Linked DNA regions of Homo sapiens: region 2 is linked to region 1. Evidence: promoter capture Hi-C in human tissues and cell types (Jung and others, 2019). All regions are on one chromosome and are shown on one strand. Each heading gives the region's core, a stretch centred on a gene start or on the middle of the fragment in contact. The rest is flanking DNA. Distances are from core to core; before and after follow the strand shown. Region 1 holds the start of FAHD2A (fumarylacetoacetate hydrolase domain containing 2A). Region 2 has its middle 8.3 kb from the start of LINC03052.

Region 1 (3,812 bases), core at 224-2,723:
CCCTGAATGGTTCCTTGCTCTTACAACAAAGGCGGTATTGTACAGCCTTCTATGCCCAAAAATGTGGAGGCAGCTGATCCCCAGACTCTTGGTCCTCACCTGGAGATTCAATCTGCCTTGTTCAGTTGAAGATTCATTAGACTTAGGTCACCACTGTTGTGGCCCACCAGTTTGACTAGAAAACCGAGGGCTTTGACTTCTCTGCCCTGCTGTCTTACACAAGCACCAACTGTGCCACTGTCAAAAGGCTGTTCGAGCCAATGTGCACACACTCAGACACTCCACATGCTAACATAACAGTAACTGCTGCCGCTGAATGCCAACTATTAAGTGCTCTACCTACAATGTCTGATTTAATTCTCGACAATTGTGGAAGGTAGGTACTGTTAGCCTCATTTTACAGATGAAACAATTAAGGCTTAAAGAGGTTAAGAGATTTGCCCAAGGTTACACAGTCCTAGAGCTAGGAGAGGAAGGAGCTGGGATGTGAATCCAAGTCCAGGTGACATGAAGTCCTTGGTTCAGAAGCTTGTAATGCAAGCAAAAAAATCCAGCTTCAGCCCCCATCCCCCTACCAAGGCCATTTTAACCCAGAATGTTGTGGTGAGAAGTGGGGACCTTCCATAGGAAATCCTCCAAAGTCTCTAAAGATTGTAGTGAGAAGTAGGGACCTCCCACAGGAGATCCTCCAGAGGCCGTAACTGCTAACAGACATGCGTGGGGAAACTACAGGCGCCCTCTGGCTGTTGCCTCAGGGACGAGGCTGGTTACCAGCTCTCCAAGAGAACCCCAGGCCCCACTGACTGTTCCCTTCCCACATGACACACACATGCAGGTTCATTCCAACCTTACAGCAATCTCCTCAGGTAGAGCGCCCTCACTTTAAAGAAGAGGACACTGAGACTCAAAGGGATGATGTCAGGTGCCCAAGGTACTAGTCAGAAAGTGGCCCTGGGGCTTCTGCAACAACCACTATATCACACAGCCCGAGCTCAATCCAACTCTGCAAGAGTCCATAAGCAAAGGGGCGGCGACATGAGGTGGAAACAGTAGCCTCCATCAAACAAAGCCTGAGACATGGGTGTGCACGTCGGATTCCATCCCACCGTCCACTCGCCTGGAACCCGTGCCGGTCCCCCAGTTTCCCCATATGCCCAGCTCCAGCCCCGACAGTTAGTGAGTGCTCACACAGGTCCGCCCCGTCTGTGTGGTCAGAAGCGGCTGGGGATCCGGTACTAGTTCTGCGCTCCGCGGGAGACCGGCGCCACGGACACCCTTCTGGCCTAGACCCAGCCAGGCTCGTCCTACCTGGCCGCGGCGGCCGATCTTCCTGCGCTGTAGGGTTAGAGCTCGCGGGGCCGAAGGTCAAGGGCGGCGGGCGCCTGAGCACTGCCACCAGTGACCGCAGCCAGCCGGGGAAATGCAGCAGCTGCTAACCCAGGGCCACTCGGCCGGATCACCCGAGAGAAAAGCGGGCGCGATCCTGTGACGTCACAGGCAATGGCCACTAGCAGGGCGCCAATCCCGGAGGGGCGGGCCCATCGTGGGGCGGGCGGCTCCGGCGGGTCTTCAGGCTACGGGTTCAGCCAGGCGCCAGCCGCGTTCTCTGGAGACGCTCTCTCTCGGAGGGACCCTGCACTTGCCTGAACTCGAGAGTGGGCGCTGCCCGAAGGTTTGTCCCTGGGCGCTTCGCTGGCCTCATCCGGTCTCGGCCTTGTTCTGGGCCTGGCGCCTTTCCCATTGTTGGGGAAAGTGGTCTAGGAGACCAAGGCAGCGTGCTGGGTGGCAGAGAATGATTTGTGGCTTCTGATTCTGACATATGTCGTTGAGGAGGGGAGGGATGACTGCCCCCGTTTTACTTATGGAGAACCTGGGGCCAGAGCTGTTTTCCCAGGGTGACACAGGCGGTGAGTAGTGGAGCTGGCATTCCTGACCCCAAAGCGCAGCGTTTCCCAGCCACTCTCCGCAGCCAGGCCTTCACCTGCACTGCTGGGCGCAGGTGGGGAAGTGGGGAAACGGGACTCCATCCCCTGCAGAGGGCAGGCGTGTAGGGAGTGGCAGCTGAACTCCACAGACAGCTACTGCTCAGCTCTTCAGCTGCCGACTTTGAACAGTGTGAGGGGCTCTGTACAAGTGGCCCCCACATTACTCAAGGACCAGATCATCAAGAGCTTTACTTGTCCCACGAAGGAGTCTGGACCTTGTTTACGTGCACAGGAGACCGCTGGAAGGTTCTCAGTGGCGTGCCATGTCCCGACTTCTATTTGAGAAGTTTTTCTCTGGCCACCCGTCTGAGGAAAGGTGTCTGGGTGGGTGGTGCGGTTGAGAACAATGGTGGTGCGGTGCGTGGTGGAGAAGGTGAGTGTCCAGAGATGTTCAGGAGGAAGAACTGACAGCTCTGAATGACAGGAGGTGGAAGTGAGAAGGAAGGAGGTACAAGGCCAACTCCTGGGTCTCTAGCTCGGTAGGTGCAGGGCCGTTCATGGAGACAGGGCTCCTGGAGGAGCAGCGGGTCTGGGGAGAGGATGGTGAGCTCCGATTTGCATGGGACATCCAAAGGGCATTGAACGGTGGGCAGTTGGAGACATGGGTCTGGAGCTTGGGACTTCAGCCTAGCTTGCAGAAGGTCACCACAGATATTGAAATGGAACCTATGGGGGTGGCTGTGATCAGGGGGATTCGCTGAGGAGAACCTGGCACAAGGGTTTCACTAAGCCATAGCTCCCAAAGACTTTCTGAAAAGCTAAGTTACAGCCTGGAAGAAAATATCTGTAAAGGCTATATTTGATAAAAAGACTTGTATCCAGAATATAGAAAGAATGCTTAAAAGTCAGTAGATAAAATCAAACAATTCAATTTTTTAGATGGACAAAATATTTGAACTGACATTTCATCAAATAAGATATACAGACAGAAAATTGGGACATGAAGGCTGGGCGCAGTGGCTCACGCCTGCAATCCCAGCATTTTGGGAGGCCGAGGCAGGCGGATCACAAGGTCAGGAGATCGAGACCATCCTGGCTAACACAGTTAAACCCCATCTCTACTAAAAATACAAAAAATTAGCCGAGCGTGGTGGTGGGCGCCTGTAGTCCTAGCTACTGGGGAGGCTGAGGCAGAAGAGTGGCGGGAACCCGGGAGGTGGAGCTTGCAGTGAGCCGAGATCGTGCCACTGCACTCCAGCCTGGGCGACAAAGCAAGACTCTGTCTCAAAAAAAAAAAGAAAGAAAAAATTAGGACATGAAAAGATGCTCAACATCATTAATCATTAAGGATATGCAAATTGCAAGCGCAATGTGACACCATCTCACACCTACTAGAATGGACAAAGAAGACTGATTATACCAAGTACTGGCAAGAATGTGGAGGACCTGGGATTCTTGTACACTGCTGATGGGATTATAAAATAGTACCACCACGATCGAAAACCATTTGTCAGTGTATGAAGAGAATTAAACATACACCTACCATATGATGTAGCCATTTCAATCCTGACTATTGACAGTATTGAATTTTACCTTAGCCCTTTGCTTCTAGAAATAGTGAAGGTTAAGGAATCCCACCACTCTTTTGTTCCAGAAAACCCCCTACTGGAAAGAACCAGTGACTTTCTATATAACCTGGATAAGACTCCCAGATGCTCCCTTGTTTATCTGTGACCAGGCCAGACACAGACCCTCTAAATTCCCATTCTTGGCCTCATAAATGATTAGCTGGGCTGCTTGTCCCACAGATCAATAAGAACAAAAGCCTGTAACCAAACCTTGGTTCAGATTCTCTCCTTTTCCAAGCCCTTGAGCTTTGGCCCACCC
Region 2 (3,976 bases), core at 485-2,984, 130 kb before region 1:
TTGGCTCAATCTCAGCTAACGGCAACATCAGGGTTCAAGCGATTCTCCTGCCCAGTCTCCTGAGTGGCTGGGATTATAGGCATGTGCCACCACTCCTGACTGATTTTTGCATTTTTAGCAGAGACGGGGATTCCCCATATTGGCCAGGGTCGTCTCCAACCTGATCTACCAGCCTTGGTATCCCAAAGTGCTGGGATTACAGGTGTAAGTCACCACACCTGGCCTCTCTGAGGTTCATTCTTCTATGCAAAAGAAAAGGGTAGTATGTAGTGCCCTGTGAGTTATGCATGAACCCAACAATTTTACCTACAGATCTGAGAGCTCTCTTTGTACCTCAGGTTCTATTTTTGTCTTATACAAAATAAAGCTTATTCTACTCTAGACAGAAGTTTATCATTGAGTTACAACCTGAGTCAAATTTTGCTTTGGTCTGTGTTTCTCCAGGGCATAAGATGAAGAAGTTTGAATGATACCTTTCCTAATTTCCTTCCTTCAGGAAAATGGTCTCAGAGATCACACAAGCCTTCCAGAAAGAGCCCATCTGTCTCTTCTGTCTGAACTAACTCGTAGATCCCATCACCACAGGCTGTGTCCCCAGCTTCTGTAGACCCTGTCTCTGCCTTTCCTGGGAAGAAGCCAAAATTCCTACCTGCTGCCCACATTCAGGGAACCATCACAGCAGGAGGACATCAAAACCAATATTCTTCTGAAGAATCTAGTGTGCATTACCAGGAAAACCAGTCTCTGGCAATTCCTGAGCTCTAATGAACAAATGTGTGGAACCCACAGGGAGACAAAAAGATATTTGAAGAGGTGGACAAGAGCCTGCTTCATTTGCTGTTCTGGGACACTCAGGAGCACCAGGATCACAGACACTGTGAGGGGCAGCTAAGGAACACTGGGTAAGTGATGGCTCTGAGAGCACTTTGAAAGCTGGAGGATGGCACAAGTAAAGAGATTAGGGGGAAGTTGAAGAGCATGATGATTAGTCTGTTCTGTACTGGATGTCATGTAGTGCCTAGGTATCAATGATAAAAATTTCAGTGGAATCTGTGAGAATACCTTCCTTCCTTGAACTTACATTTCACTGAAGGAGTGATGAAGTTAATAATCATTATAATAATTTGACTATTTAGTGTAATGTTCAAGGCACTGTAAAGAGCTCAATATCAGGAAGAGTTTCTGGCTATCCAAACTACAAGTTCAAAAGGCTTCTATATAAGAAACCTATGTACCAACACTGGAAATAATAGAATAAAATATGCTAGAATTAGCAAGGCATGGTGTCAGTAGATTCCAATTCTGCTGCAAGATGCCACATTATCTATAAATTAGCCCTGCTTATGATTTTCCTATAAACTTGTTGCATTACATGTTGTGGTTCTACAGTCTGAGATCTTCCCAAATCTTTCATATCTCATCAGTTGATTTCTTTATCACTGGGGGTCTGAAACCCAAAACGATTTGCTTCTCTGATGTTCACATTCATAGTTCTTTTACAGGAGAAGATCATGAAGCAAATGAGATCTTTATGGGCAAAAATTCAAGAAAACCAAAGAAATTTAAGTGAGAAAAGCAGGAAACCCAGCCAGTGGATTGTAAGTATTAGGCCTTTTCCCTCAGATTCAACCTCAGACAGACATGCTAGAAATGTATCCACTTATCACTTGAATGGAAATCGTGTTGGTTAGGATTTGAGGAAGATTTTTTCTCATGGCTTCCAATCCTGAGGGTACAATGCAGCATTGATTACTGCTCAGAGAGAGTGGTCAGGCTATGCAGTAGGGAGACTTGGTACTAAAGACTAATTTAAAAACACAGAGATCATAATACTGCAAACAATTATCTGTGAATCAACCATTAATTCCAATGGCTCTCATGTAGGTTTTTCAATATCAAAGGGTATATATTGAAGAAATGATCAATAATAACCTTTCTTCAGGTGTTTCAGGAAGTCATATAATGAATAAAAGTGGTATGAGAAAAGAATGAATTTGACTTCTAGTATTGTTAAGAAACAATAAAGATAAATGAAAGAAAGGGAGGAATGATTGATTTCATGGTTCTGAGAAGTAGGAAGACACAAATTTATGTACATAGCTTATTGGTAGAATACATGAGTCAGTCTAGGCTTGGTGTCTCAAGTCCATAATCCGTATAATTTGGGAGACCGAAGCAGGAGAATCACTTGAGACCAGGAGTTTCAAACCAGCCTGGCCATCAACATAGTGAGACCCCTAACTTTATTATGAAGAAAAGATGAAAGAGATAAAGAAAAGAGAACCTGAGTTAAAGTGAATAAAGGATGTGTAAGAGGAGGAGGATGAAGTCAGAATAAATATGTCATCTAGGAAATCCAGGTCCCTGCAGTGCTATGTGCAGCTATGGGCAGAGATGACCAGAGCTGAGTAGAGGAAGCTGCATTCAGTTCCCTATGAGAAGTAAAACAACATATAGAGAAACTTACAGAGGATGACAGAAAGATTTTACAGCAACTTAAGAAAAGCAAAAACGCAAAATGGTTCAGAAAAAAAAAAACACCTAAGAAAAATCTATAAGGAGCTGATGAAAATGTGCCATGATCTAGATGTGGAGCTGCTCCAGGAAAGAACCAATAACATGCCTAAAAAATTTTTATATTATTTGAAGTTCATACCTTACAACAAGCTTGTCCAACCCATGGTCTTTGGGCCACACATGGCCAAGGATGGCTTTGAACATGGCCCGACACAAATTCCTAAACTTTCTTGAAACATGATGAGATTTTTGTTTGTCATTTTATTAAAGCTCTTCAGCTATAGTTAATGTTAGTGTATTTCATGTGTGGCCCAAGACAATGCTTTTTTCTAATGAGGCCCAGGGAAGCCAAAAGATTGCACACCACTGGCTTAGGTGATATTATTTATTCAACACCATAGATGTGTGTGTGTATATATATGTATATGTGTGTATGCATATATATATATATATATATATATATGTATATGTGTGTATGCATATATATATATATATATATATATATATATATATATATATATATATAAAATATTTAGCTCCTGCTGCTAAGATGGAGGATCTTTTCCAAATAGAAATAACATAGACAAAATGTAATTCTTTTCCTAACCATGAACAAGCAAGCTTGTGGAATTTTTAAGTGGATATAATTTTCTATTCCCATTTATCAAAATTGGCCACAGAGAATATTACCCTCTAGTAAACTTCTTTTGTAGCTTGCTTTTCAAAAACAGAAAAAAATTAACTTATTTGTGACTATCCCATTTTTGTCTCCAATTTAGCGAAATGGAGAATTTGGGGAAGAAAAACACTTATTTCTTCCTCCTGTTTGTTCTTAATTTATAACATATTATCCTTTAGAAACAAGCCCTGGGAAAGTCCACTTTGTAGGCAGTTGATTGCAGCAATGCATGGCCACACATTTCCTTTCCTCTATTCACCACCAGGGCTTTGAATTCATCAAGAGTTTAAAGCCATCCTGTAAATATGTTGTACTGGGATCAACTTTGGAAATGAAAAGGAAAAGGAATTTACAAAGCATTTCAGGGATGGCACTATTCTATACTTTACCAAACCTAAAGGTTGGGTTGGAAGAGTAGCCCATTTCTGAAGCTTTTCTTGTTTTCTTTGCAGGATTTGGGAGACATATTGACCAAGTAAGTTTGGTCTCAATGCAAACTGGGGTAGCATGAGAGCTATTAAGTGGATCAAGCCATTTCTAACAAAATGAAGACACAACTTATGGAAACTCAATTGTTGGCATATGCATACATATGGGTTCAACTGGCTATAATTTCCTGTTCTCCTTTATGAAAAATTAACCTTTTTCCTCCCTGTGGCTATTGAATAAGTGTGCTTCCAGACTCAATACAGCAGTTTTTGAAGCACAGCTGTTTATGATTGTGGATTTCAAGTCATAAAAATGTTTAGGTGCATGAACTAGTTTTTTCCCAGGTGGTAG

Evidence for each region. The method cuts DNA at HindIII sites, captures the fragments that hold promoters and counts their contacts. A contact is called where the count stands out against the background at its distance.
Region 2: a contact is called between a fragment that was not itself captured here and the fragment with the promoter of FAHD2A in region 1, in 1 of the 25 tissues and cell types used here (dorsolateral prefrontal cortex).

The regions. Positions count from the first base shown.
Region 1 is chr2:95,400,369-95,404,180 of GRCh38, reverse strand. It overlaps FAHD2A (fumarylacetoacetate hydrolase domain containing 2A), which reads right to left and starts at 1,473. Exons shown (of 8, transcript NM_016044.3): 1 at 1,309-1,473. RefSeq lists enhancers at 565-684, 825-1,763, 1,755-1,834, 1,764-2,703. The HindIII fragment of the contact is 15,771 bases long and covers 34-3,812 here.
Region 2 is chr2:95,533,018-95,536,993 of GRCh38, reverse strand. No RefSeq gene overlaps it. Among named protein-coding and RNA genes, the nearest start is that of LINC03052, 8.3 kb to the right of the region's middle. The HindIII fragment of the contact is 3,299 bases long and covers 85-3,383 here.